4 separate regions of the Homo sapiens genome follow, and all the other regions are linked to region 3. The links are contacts of gene promoters, found by promoter capture Hi-C in blood cells and fetal thymus (Javierre and others, 2016). All regions are on one chromosome and are shown on one strand. Each heading gives the region's core, a stretch centred on a gene start or on the middle of the fragment in contact. The rest is flanking DNA. Distances are from core to core; before and after follow the strand shown.

Evidence for each region. Contacts are between HindIII fragments. The CHiCAGO score rates a contact against its expected background, and 5 or more counts as called.
Region 1: a contact is called between a fragment that was not itself captured here and the fragment with the promoter of XPR1 in region 3, in 1 of 17 cell types (erythroblasts). The highest score is 6.0, in erythroblasts.
Region 2: a contact is called between a fragment that was not itself captured here and the fragment with the promoter of XPR1 in region 3, in 2 of 17 cell types (erythroblasts and naive B cells). The highest score is 5.3, in erythroblasts.
Region 4: a fragment that was not itself captured here is called in contact with the fragment with the promoter of XPR1 in region 3 in 6 of 17 cell types (erythroblasts, megakaryocytes, M0 macrophages and 3 more); the score reaches 10.5 in erythroblasts.

What each region holds. Positions count from the first base shown.
Region 1 is chr1:180,822,912-180,826,147 of GRCh38, reverse strand. XPR1 (xenotropic and polytropic retrovirus receptor 1) reads right to left here. Exons shown (of 15, transcript NM_004736.4): 8 at 1,205-1,395; 9 at 804-983. Among named protein-coding and RNA genes, the nearest start is that of LINC02816, 82 kb to the left of the region's middle. The HindIII fragment of the contact is 4,014 bases long and covers 1-3,236 here.
Region 2 is chr1:180,774,219-180,777,192 of GRCh38, reverse strand. All of the region lies in intron 2 of XPR1 (xenotropic and polytropic retrovirus receptor 1), which reads right to left. Among named protein-coding and RNA genes, the nearest start is that of LINC02816, 130 kb to the left of the region's middle. The HindIII fragment of the contact is 961 bases long and covers 1,023-1,983 here.
Region 3 is chr1:180,630,398-180,633,791 of GRCh38, reverse strand. It overlaps XPR1 (xenotropic and polytropic retrovirus receptor 1), which reads right to left and starts at 1,770. Exons shown (of 15, transcript NM_004736.4): 1 at 1,522-1,770. The coding sequence starts at 1,590. RefSeq lists enhancers at 905-1,405, 1,406-1,906 and a silencer at 1,031-1,410. The HindIII fragment of the contact is 29,339 bases long and covers 1-3,394 here.
Region 4 is chr1:180,844,583-180,847,657 of GRCh38, reverse strand. All of the region lies in intron 11 of XPR1 (xenotropic and polytropic retrovirus receptor 1), which reads right to left. Among named protein-coding and RNA genes, the nearest start is that of LINC02816, 60 kb to the left of the region's middle. The HindIII fragment of the contact is 8,768 bases long and covers 1-3,075 here.

The DNA.
Region 1 (3,236 bases), core at 719-3,218, 190 kb before region 3:
AAATGATTTTGAGATCATTAAGAGACAGGTAAAGTGGAAGAAAAAAAGAACTTATTATAAACAAGAATCAAAGTCAATTTTTCTTTTTCTTTTTTTTGAGATGGAGTTTTGCTCTTGTTGCCCAGGCTGGAATGCAATGGCACAATCGCGGCTCACTGCAACTTCCACCTCTGGGGTTCTAGCGATTCTCCTGCCTCAGCCTCCCTAGTAGCTAGGATTACAGGCATGGGCCACCACCCCCAGCTAATTTTGTATTTTTAGTAGAGACGGGGTTTCACCATGTTGGTCAGGCTGGTCTCAAACTCCTGACCTCAGATGATCCACCCGCCTTGGCTTCCTAAAGTGCTAGGATTACAGGCGTGAGCCACCGCGCCCAGCCCAAAGTCAATTTTTCAAATTAAACTTGATAATCTGGTAAGATATTCCTACTGCTTTTAGAGAACAAATCTTTCCTAAAATAAAATGTTCGGTTGATACTCACATCAACTTAACAGGAAAATAATTCTTTTACCACATTTTTTTGGGGGAAGGAAACTTACAAAGTTCTACATCTTATCACAGCTAGTTAAACGAAGTAAAAAATGTTTATAATTTACAAAATCATCTCAATATTTGGCCACCTGATACTCGATCTCAGGAGGAAAATATACGTGAGTACTTTTTCCCAGGGCCTCCACTCACATAAACTATAATGTGAACCACGGCCTCTGCAGTTGTACAACCTAGCAGCCTTGGTTTTATCTTAGAGGAAGTCAATAACCAATATGCCACTCTAAAAGTGGTACACAAGTTTCTGGACTTACCAGCAGTTTAAGCAGCCAAAACCGGGATTTATAGTAGAAAGTTTTGGTGGGGTTGATAAGGAAGAAAACCATAAATCCATAAAGGGCAAGTGGATACACATATGTGGGGATGACACTAATTGGAGCAAAGAAGCATGCCAGAAGGCTCAGGCACCACAATATCCCGAGGAATCCAGCAATCTAGTAAAGGATGGGGAAGACAGAAAGATAGAGAAAAATTGTTATTTTTACTTTTACCATTACTTAAAATATCTTTAATAAAACAAAAGTAAGAAACATGATTAGTTATTAAGCTAATAATCCTCTTCAAGTAGAGGATGGATTTAAGTACCCACTAAACCAGATAGCTATATAGCTAATGCAAACTATATTCATGAGGTGTTATGTCTTGCTTTGATTACCTCAAAGAGATGTTGATGAGACAAATTGCTTCTCGGATTAAGTTCAAAGATGAGTACATGGTTTACTCCAGCCTGTCTCCAACCATACGTGTTGATGCCCAGTAGAAAAAGGAATTCAATCAGAAGAAAGCCACCCCGATAGATTCTTATCAAGGGCCATATACTTCTATCTGTTTCAAGTTTAAATACAGCTGAAAGAATATTAAGATATTGGTCAGTTATAAAATTCATAACTTCCCTTGAATTAATAATCTTTTGTCTTCATTCTCAATGATATAGCCCTGGCATAGAAATTTTTCATAAATAAAACCTAAACCTAGATTATCTATCATCTATCTATCTATCTATCTACCTATTTATTTTTTTGAGACAGTCTCACCCTGTTGCCAGGCTGGAGTGCAATGGCGTGATCTCGGCTCACTGCAACCTCCGACTCCCTGGTTCAAGCGATTCTCCTGCCTCAGTCTCCCGAGTAACTGGGATTACAGGCACGCACCACCACGCCCAGCTAATTGTTGTATTTTTAGTACAGACAGGGTTTCACCATGTTGGCCAGGATTGTCTTCATCTCCTGACCTCGTGATCCACCCACCTTGGCCTCCCAAAGTGTTGGGATTACAGGCATGAACCACCCCGCCTGGCCAAACCTAGATTATTTTAAGAGCCTTAAAAAGTCGCCTGTGGGTTCTTTCTCGTCTTCATTTTACTCTGCAGAATGTCACTAGAATAATTTCCCAAAACTTGACTTTCAGCATGTCATCCCATTGTTCTATTAGTTTTTTAGATTACAAAGAATCATGGTGAAGTGGCTTAGAATCATGTGATCAGTTCTGTCATTTGGGGATCCGGCATGACAAAACCTCTCTTTGGCTTCATTTACTCCATTATTAAACTGGATATAGTAATATCTACCTCACAGAGTTGCCATGAAAATGAGAAGGAACAGTACACATGAAAGTAGTGTGAAAATTTAAATGTCATATAAATGACAACAGTTAATATTTACGGAATGCTTACTATGTGCTAAGCACTGTTCTCAGTATTTTTACATAGAATAATTGGTAATTCATTTAACCATCACAATGGCTCTTTGAGTTAAAAACCATTATCTCCATTTGATTAGGAAACTAGAGCACAGAGAGGTTGTCATTTGCTTAGTTACTGACCTAAGCTAGAATTTGAACCCAGTTTTGCTCCAAAGTTCATACTCTTAAGCACTACATTCTATTGCCCATTATGTCCACACAAATGTTCAATATCATTATTCTATGGCTCGCCAGTAATTATAATGTTCAAATACTTTAGATACCTTAGCCTCACAATTCAAATTCTTCATAATCTAATCACCAACTCACTTTTCCCAAACTTATCTCGCAGCACCCCTAAAATATTAACTCTTGACTCGTGATGAATTTTATTATCCTTTTAATAAGTTTGTTTTTCACATTTACTTATGTTGTTCCCTCTACTTAAAATGGCCTTGTTCTTTCTCTCCACTAATTCAAATTCTACTTACTATTTAAGAGACAGATCCTGGATCCTTACCTGTTCATAAATTCACTGAATCAACATATTTCGTTTTAAGCCCACTGTATGAGAAACACTTCCATTTGGTCTAATGATTTTCCAAATAACTATAAAATTTATTGACAGTACTGCTCATTTGGAATTTAATTACATACAAACTTTTGTTTTTTTTTTTTGAGATGGAGTCTTGCTCTGTCGCTCAGACTGGAGTGCAGTGGTGTCATCTTGGCTCACTGCAACCTCTGCCTCCCGCGTTCAAGCGATTCTCCTGCCTCAGCCTCCTGAGTGGCTGGGATTACAGATGCGTGACGCCACACCCAGCTAATTTTTTGTATTTTTAGTAGAGACGGGGTTTCATCATGTTGGCCAGGCTGGTCTGGAACTCCTGACCTCAGGTGATCTGCCCTCCTCGGCCTCCCAAAGTGCTGGGATTACAGGAGTGAGCCACCATGCCCAGCCTATATACTAATTTATATACTTAAATAACCATTTATTGTTTACCTTT
Region 2 (2,974 bases), core at 254-2,753, 140 kb before region 3:
CAAAAGATATTCTGGAGGTAAAATCAGTAGGTTTTAGTGCAGACTAGATATGGTTCTGTTGCCAACTACCTATATTAGCTTGAGCAAGTAACACTCTAGGCCTGTTTTCACTTTGAAAAATAAGGGCATTTGAATAGGTAATCTCTAAGTCTTTTCCTAATTGCAAATTTCTAACTAAAACTGCTAATTTCTGCAAAATGATTCTGAATATAACTAGGCTTAAGTAGTCCCTACACAAGATTTTCTGATCTGAGTCTATCTTAAGGTTTTATCAGGTGAGGTTTAACTAAATGTGTTTAAAATATTCTTGGTAGAACACACACAAAAAAGTCTTTTCACTTATAACAGTGACATGTAATTGAGAAAAAAATCAATCTCACTGGCACTAGATACAATACAATCCAAGCTATTTATTATCCCAATGAGTATTTACCTAATGTCTGCTAGGTAAAGAACAACAATAAATGAAATATCAATAAATAATTCAAACAAGGGCATAATTCATTAGTAAAGTGGGAGGAATGTAACAGTGGTTTTCAAATGATTTTTGCCCTTGTAACTTCTAAAATAATTTTGAATAACTATCTTGCAATTGTTAAGTCATGATAACTGATTTTGAACACATTTAAATAATTATAAACAATGTAATTTCTGGTACCCTGCAATCATTTACATTTTAAAATACAAGGACTTTGTTTTAATTGTATAATGGAAATTGTATAATTTCCATTATACAATTATTCCATTATACAATCCAATTGTATAATTATACAATTATACAATTTCCAAAATTATAATGGAAATTAAATGCCATAATAATTCAATAACTACTTGAATTAATTCAATAACTACTTTATGTATTTGGTTTCATCTTATAGACATAAATGTTAAGAAATATTGTTAACATAAATAAGTAGATCAGAATGAAAGTTTGTTGCAGCAATGTCAATCTTTGAATGCCTATGTATTTTCCAAAAGCCACATGGTGATTATTGAAAATTAATTTTAATGATAAATAAGCTTACAATTAAGTCTTCTTTCAGTTTCAGTGAAAACAAAAAACTGGACTTGCAAAGGATTTGTTACCCTGTTACTCACTTTCTTAATACCTACAATGAGTATTTGAGTATTTCAGAGAATTCCTTTGTTTGGGATCCAAAATGGCAACAACGTATCACAGCAAAATTTAGATTGCGTAAGAGACAAGCCTTTCTTTTATAAAGTCAAGGAAAGGCAATTTGAAAGAGGACTTCTTGACTGTAGACTAATTATTCAGACCAATCAATTTCAGGAATTAGTACATATGTAAATGAATATATCCACATATATCTGGATATAAATCTGGAAATGAATTCTCTTAAAGGACAATAAAAAGGGGATTTTTTTTTCCAGCACTCTTCTCCATTTAACAAATATGACAAAATACTACTTTGTATACAGATGACAGTTTCAAGAGAATTAGGTATTTTTAACTGAAGGCCTTTTATTTTCTAATTCTGTTAGCTAATTAATCACTTTATATACCACAAAGTATACCATTATTTAAAGTCATTTTGTTAAGTAAATCTATCTAGTTAGATCCACTTTTAACTAAACTATTAGTAATCCTAGTTCTTTTTCACTCTTGCAAAGCAACAGATCAAAATTATTATTAAGACTGAAGTTACAATAAACAAAGCAAACAAAAGATATCTGAGGATAATCCAAGATGAATACTATTATTAACTTAACTGAATTCTCAGTCTTTTTTTCAATTTTTTTTCATTTTTATATAGAGACAGGGTCTTGCTTTGTTGCCCAGTCTGGTCTCAAAACTCCTGGGCTCAAGGGATCCCCCTGCCTCAGCCTCCCAAAGTGCTGGGATTACAGGTGGGAGCCATGGTGCTCGGCCCTGACTGCTCAGTCTCACTGTTGCAAAGATGAGTAAAACAATGAACCATAAGAGTCTTAACTACTCTGGTGACTTACTCCAGGGAAAAAGCTTTCAAAGAATGATAGGCAGGTAACCATCTCATTTCTCTCCAAACTGCCAAGCATATATGTAATGTTGTGGTTTGAATGTGTCCCCCCAAATTCATGATAAAGCTTAATCACCCATGCCATAGTATTTAGAGGTGGGGCTTTAAGAGGTGTTTAGGTGAATGGGATTAGTGACGTTATAAAAGAGGCTGAAGAAATCTCCCTAGTCCCTTTCATCCTTTCTGCCATGTAAGGACATAGTGTTGGACCCCTCCAGAGGACACAACAACAAGATGCCATCTTGGAAGCAGAAGGCAAGCCTTTATCAGGCACTACGTCTGTTGGTGCCTTGATCCTGGACTTCCCAGCCTCCAGAACTATGAGAAATAAATTTCTATTATTTATATATTACCCAGACTAAAGTATTTTGTTATAGCAGAAAGGATGGACTAAGACATATAGCTAAAGAGAAAACACATTTATGATGAACATCAATATTGGTCAGATATAAAAAGATAGGAAAGACAGGCCAGACGTGGTGGCTGACACCTGTAATCCCAGCACTTTGGGCGGCCGAGGCAGGCAGATCACGAGGTCAGGAGATTGAGACTACCCTGGCTAACACGGTGAAACCCCATCTCTACTAAATATACAAAAAAACAAACAAACAAAAAAATTAGCTGGGCATGGTGGCGGGTGCCTGTAGTCCCAGCTACTAGGGAGGCTGAGGCAGGAGAATGGCATGAACCCGGGAGGCGGAGCTTGCAGTGAGCCGAGATCACGCCACTGCACTCCAGCCTGGGCGACAGACCAAGACTTCCATCTCAAAAAAAAAAAAAAAAAAAAAAAGATAGGAAAGACAGATTTCTTTTTTTAAAAAAAGTATTAAAAAATCCAGATATGGGTTATCCTTTGTTAATTCTTTAACATCCATAAACTACATCTTTGTTGCAAAATTCCTGCAATATTCTCTTTTATTCTGATTTCACAGCAACATAACCAAATAAAGAAAATT
Region 3 (3,394 bases), core at 521-3,020:
AAACCATCACTTGGATTCTAGCCAAGGTTTTAAAACTAAATGTTATTAGAAACAATAAATCAACTCTGCAGGCTGAAATGTTAGTCCCTTATTTCACTCATTCTTACAAAACATGGCCACAAAATACTGTAAGAAATTGAGTGACAATAAAGCATTAATAATTATAGGCCTTTCATTTCTAGCAATAATGAAATACTCTAGGTTGCAAGTGAATTTATTTCACAATATTCAAGATTCCGTTTAACCTACCTGCATCTCTTTCCCTGTCTTCTTCAATTATTACAATGGCTATATGAATAAATACACTCACTGCTATTGCCCAAACCTCCTATCACTAAACTTATATAAAAATTAAATGGAGAACTAAAATAGTTTAATTCATAAAATCTAGCTAAGTTATGTGTGTTCATATTGATTTTATATTCTTTGTTCCTGCACACAAAACAGATGTGAATTCCTGGAGGTTACAGATAAGTCTGTCTTTCTCTATCCAGGAGCTGAATTGCCAGCTACTGAGAATAACCTATTGCAATGCTTAAAGCCTCTTAGGTATCTTGTCTTCTGAACATATAAATGGGTTCATTATCTTTATTTTTCCCTTTATTAATGTAAGGTTCCTTATTATCTATTAAATACCTTCCAGCAGTGTTAGCACAGAAATTGGGAGGGAATGGGGAGCATGATTTCTGTAATACACAGGTAAGGTATATTGTTTACAATATACTAATTTTCTCCCCAGCTAGCAAAAACTTAGCAGAAAATAAAAAAATGTTAATAATTCTCTTCTCTCCTTTCTCTTCCCTCCATTCCAAAACAAGAGGCAAAAACAAAGATGTTATTACTCTGTAGACTTCATGCAATCAGTAAAAAGAGTCTTATTATCAAAGCAGAATAGTTGATTACAACGTGTTTACAAAAACTATAACCACTACATATGTGATACACACTTAAGTCAAGTTTCAACCCCGTTACAAAGCCTTTGTCAACAGTGGGCAAGTGGGAAAAAGCCGAAGGGCTCTTTGGAATGAAGGAAATCACTGGAGGGGCTTCTCTTGGAAGACAAGGATTCCTTGGTGAGAGGTGTAGAGAGAGAAACAAGACCTAACCTTGGCGAGGGGGCGCTCGCCCAGGGTGGGGACGAGAGGTCAGGGCGAGTGGGGAGAAGGGGATTAGCGCGGAACAGCCGCGACCCGGGGCTGCCCTCGCACCGTGACTCCCCCACCTGCAGCTCACCCTCCCACCGTTCCCCGGCCCCGGCCCCGGCCCGGGCAGCGCCTTTCCTCCCGGCCCTCCGCCTGCATATCCGTTACCCCGGCGGCAGCGGGGCTGCGGGGGAGGGGAAGGACAGCGGAGCCGGGAGGCGGCCGGCCGCGGCGGGGATGCCGCAGTGGCTCCCCGCGGCAGCGGGTCAAAGTCTGCCCGGGCACAGGGAGCCAGCTGAAGCGGAAGGCGGCGGTGGACGTCAGGACTGGCGAGATGGTGGCCCCTCCGAGTCCTCCCACACCCCAGCCGTGCCGGTACCTCATACTGGATGTATTGCTTCCTCCACTCGGGAGTGATGTGCGCGGAGAGGTGCTCGGCGAACTTCATCCTGCCGTTTCCCCCTCACTCCCACTCGGGTCCAGCAGCTACAGGCGGCGGCGGCAACAGCGACTCCGACTCCTCCCCACATGGGCCCCGGCGCGGCGCGGCGCTGCGCTTCTCTCCTCCTCCGCCGCCGCCGAGGTCTCTTCAGAGCAGCCCGCCCGCCATCTTCCTCCTCCTCTCCATAGCCCCGCCCCTCCCCGCCCTCTGGACGTCATCGCCATGGTAACCGCCTACACCGCCCTGACGAAGGGGGTGCTGTAAGGGGTGGGGCTTGGGTACGCTTCTTAAGACTCCGCCCCTTGTGGGCCGTACGTGCTGGAGGCACCTCCCTGGATCTCTTCAGTCTGGCTCCTGTTGGCCTACAGCTGCTTTCTACCGCCTGTCTGGGAAGCAGCAGTGTTGTTACTGCAGTTAATATTAATACTGTAGCAACAATAATCCACACAAGACGTTTATATTTACAAAGAACTGTGCAAATATTTTTCCATTTTGATATTTATGCTTCATAAAACCTTTAAGAAATGGATCAGCACTAATCCAAACTAAGAAGCTAAAACAGTTCAGGACTAAATGTATTTAAAGGAACAGTATTTTACACACTCTAGGTGCTCAATAAGTGCTTATTGAATTTAATTAAAGACATCAATGCCAAAAAGTGCATGCTGCTTCTGAATTTCAATGTAATTGTCTAGTCCAGGGGCTATCAGAAAAGCCAATAAAAACACCAAATGAGGGTACCGACCGCACTTGTAAACTGAGCTTCCTGGGGTTGGGGGTGAGGGTTGGGAGGGAAACCAACGTTGAGAGGAAAGAGAACCCCGTAGAAGTACAGCTCTAAGCCCACCCCAGTAAAACCGGAAACAGGCCCAGCACCCAGGCTGAAGTGTCCCTGGGGAACATGGGCAGAGATCACTCACAGAGCTCTGTACTACATTGAGTGTGGGAGTGATTGTCTTGGAAGTCCCAATTCAGGACAGAAACCCAGGTCCTACCCTGGGTGGAGGAGACCTAATAATAATTTATTGAGCACTCACTGTTCCTGTACCAAGTGCTATTCTAAACCTCTTACATGTACTTTGTCCCTTGATTCTAACATTTTTTTTTTTGGTCTCGCTTTGTTGCCCAGGCTGGAGTGCAGTCACACCATCATGGTTCACTGCAGCCTTACCTCACATAGGTTTGTGAGCCATCCTCCCACCTCAGCCCCCTGAGTAGCTGGGACTACAGGCACATGCCATTATGCCAAACTAATTTTTTTGTTTATTTTTGGGAGAGATGTGGGTCTTGCTATGTTGCCCAGGCTGGTCTTGAGCTCCTGAGCTAAAACAGTCCTCCCACCTAGGCCTCCTAAAGTGCTGGAATTACAGGCATGAGCCACCTTGCTCAGCCTAACCCTCACAATTTTGATGAGATTTCAAGATTTACTAGGGAACTGCTATGCCTGGAGCAGTGCTCTGAGATATCATTCTCTGCTGTTGTCTTTTTTTCTCCATGTACTTTTTTCCCCTTTCTCTTCCCCTTAATTCATGCCAATAGGGATTCTGCAATCATTTCCCCAGGAGAGGGATGACACAAGATGGAAAATAGGCATAGACTATGAGTCTTTCTGGCTTTTTCTGTATAAAAGCCTTAACCTCTGGTGAAAGGGTAATCAAGGTCAAAAAAATAAAGAAAGAAGAGTGAGGACTCCTCTCACCTCAGACCTCCGTCTGCTCACCATAAAGATTCCCCTCTGCTGGAGGTAAACCTTGCCAGGAGAAAGAGACAGGCAAAAAGGAATATGTGTGCTACCAGGAAGGAGGCGAGA
Region 4 (3,075 bases), core at 168-2,667, 210 kb before region 3:
GAGTTTTTTCACGCTTTCATCACAGATGGTGGAGAGGATATCAATACCAATTAACACCAGTTATAGTGTATTTACACAACTTAATCTTTATAATAAACTTATGAGGTGGGAATTATTCTCTCAATTTTACTAATTTTAAATCAAAGAAATCTAGTCACTTTCTCAGGGTAACATAATTAGTAAGTGGCTAAATTAACCTAGTCCTAACTCCAAAGCCCACATTCTAGTTCTCAATGTGAAAACGTGCCTTTCACTAAGATGGTGCTTTTAAAATTCTTACTGGAAGAAGGGTTGATTAAATTGAGAAGAGCTAAGTATTTTGCTCTTTAGGTAAGAAATACTACTTTCTGCAATAGAAAGTTTAATGACAGATTTAAAAATTAATTTCAAATATCAACTTTTTCAGTTGAGAAAGGAAACAGAATTAGTCTAATATTCATAAGTGAGAAGACTATATAACAGATCTTAGAGTTTCTGCCTAATTTTCTTCAGTGATTCAGTCTTTTCTATACCAGCTATGAAATGTGTTGTGTAGACTTCAACATTCTACTTTGGGAGATATTTACTTCGTTTGAGAAGATTCCTGGTAAGGATAAAATAGTTACAAGTAGTACAATTCTACCTTTAAAAGAAAGATGTTCTGGGGTATTATTCAGAAGCAACTAAAAAGTATTTAGAGAGAGGCCTGAGGAGCCCACAGGAGAGGAACAAGTAGAAATACAAATGCTACTTATCAATGAGATATTTAGGTAGATGTTTTATTTTCCTTCCTATTAAGTGGCATCATTTTTTTTTTTTTTTACTATGTGAAGAAAATATTGTGTGTAGTGTACGAAAAGTTTCTTCACTCTGAATATTTTCATGAAAACCGTATCTTATACCTATCCAAAGTATCAATGAAATTAAGTATTAGCCAGGCACCGTGGCTCACACCTGTAATCCCAACACTTTGGGAGCCCGAGGCAGGCAGGTCACCTGAGGTAAGGTCAGGAGTTTGAGACCAGCATGGCCAACATGGTCAAACCCCATCTCTACTAATAATACAAAAATTAGCTGGGTGTGGTGGTGGGCGTGTGTAATCCCAGCTACTCAGGAGGCTGAGGCAGGAGAATTGCTTGAACCTGGGAGGCAGAGGTTGCAGTGAGCTGAGATCGTGCCACTGCACTCCAGGATGGGTGACACAGCCAGATTCCATCTCAAAAAAAAAATAAATAAATAAACAAAAACAAAAACAAACAAACAAGAAATTCAACATTAGCCCACTGGTCTTTCGTTCATTACATTCTAAAAAGCATGCTCACAACATTCCTTATTTATTAACAATATAAATTGAGAAAATTGCTAGCCAGCTTTAACAAATTACCCTAACTACCCTTGACATTTTTTTTTTTTTTTTGAGATGAAGTCTCACTCTGTAGCCCAGGCTAGAGCGCAGTGGCGTGATCTCAGCTCACTGCAACCTCCGCCTCCTGGGTTCAAGCGATTCTCCTGCCTTGGCCTCCCGAGTAGCTGGAATTACAGGTGCATGCCACTCCACCTGGCTAATTTTTTATAATTTTTAGTAGAGACAGGGTTTTGCCATGTTGGCTAGGCTGGTCTTGAACTCCCAACCTCAGGTAATCTGCCTGCCTTGGCCTCCCAAAGTGCTAGGATTACAGGCGTGAGCCACCGTGCCCAGCCCCCTTGATATTTCTTAAGACCTAAAAAAGGATACAACACTAAGCAAATTAATCATGTCAAATGATTCTGCCATCACTTGAAACAACATTAATATGTTAGTTTTGTTTCCCTCCAATTCAAGAATGACTTTCGATTTTCTGGCAGAGAGAAATTATTTTCGTATTTTGGCCGAGTCCACATTGCTCTTAATTTAAGTGTGTCAGCAGGCTCAGGTCAGCTTTGGAAGACTGAGTTTGAGACTAGCCTGGGCAACAGTAGTGAGACCCTGTATCTAAAAACAATAATAAAAATTAGCTGGGCATGGTAGCACGACCCTGTAGTCCCAGCTACTCAGGAGGCTGAGGTGGGAGGATCCCATGAGCCTAGGAGTTTGAGGCTACAGTGAGATATGACCAAGCTACTCACTGCACTCCAGCCTGGGTGACAGAGCAAGACCATCTGTGAAAACAGACACACACACACACAGTCATTATTCTTCATCTACTATTTGCAGGTCCACTGTGTGACTTTTAACAAGCCACTGTATAATATTTCATATACTATGCAGTTACTGTAAGTAAGCTATTCTCCTATTGCTGAACATTTGTTAGATTATTTCAGTTTTTTACTATATAATGTTACAAAGATACATTCATTTTTGCCCAATTCTCTATTTAGGAAAAAGTTGTGGAAAGGTACTTACTAGGTCAAAAGGTATGAATGATTTTAAGATTCGAGAGAATTCCCAAATTGCTTACAAATTTATACTCTACCAACAGAATGAGTTTTCATCTCTCCGTACCCTTGCCAGTGATAGGCATCATCACTTCTTTGATTAAATATTATTTTAATTTATATTTCTGTTTTTATTACCAAAGTGGAAAATTTTTCATGTTTATTAGTTATGTTTATTCTACAAAATTAACTGTTTTAAGTCCTTTGCCACTTTAGACAAATCAGTTTAAATTGTTTTCTGTATCACAGTAGATTAGATTACATTTTAAAACTCTTCTCTCCCTTTCAGCCCATCCCTGTTTCCATGGCAGAAGTATACTTTCTTGCCCCATTAATGTAGGGTTTGGTGACTTGCTTTGGCCTAGCAGTTGCAATGGCCTTTGGAGGATAGCAGATATGAAGCAAGCAGAGGCTTAAAATTTGTGTAATAGGTCTTGTTTCTGTCAGTGCCATGTGAAGTTTCCCCTGGCTAAGTGGCTGCTCTTTCAATTGAAGCGCCAGAATGAACACACATGAAATAGACCCAAACCCAACCTGCAGTGAGGAGCCAAACCCTGCCAGAATAGCAGCCTGAAGGCTATCCAGCCGAGCCCAGCCTAGTCCAGTCAATTCCCAGCTGACCTACAGATGCATAAGCAAGAATGGATTAAAGCTGTTTTTAAGCTACTGAGTTTTGGGTTG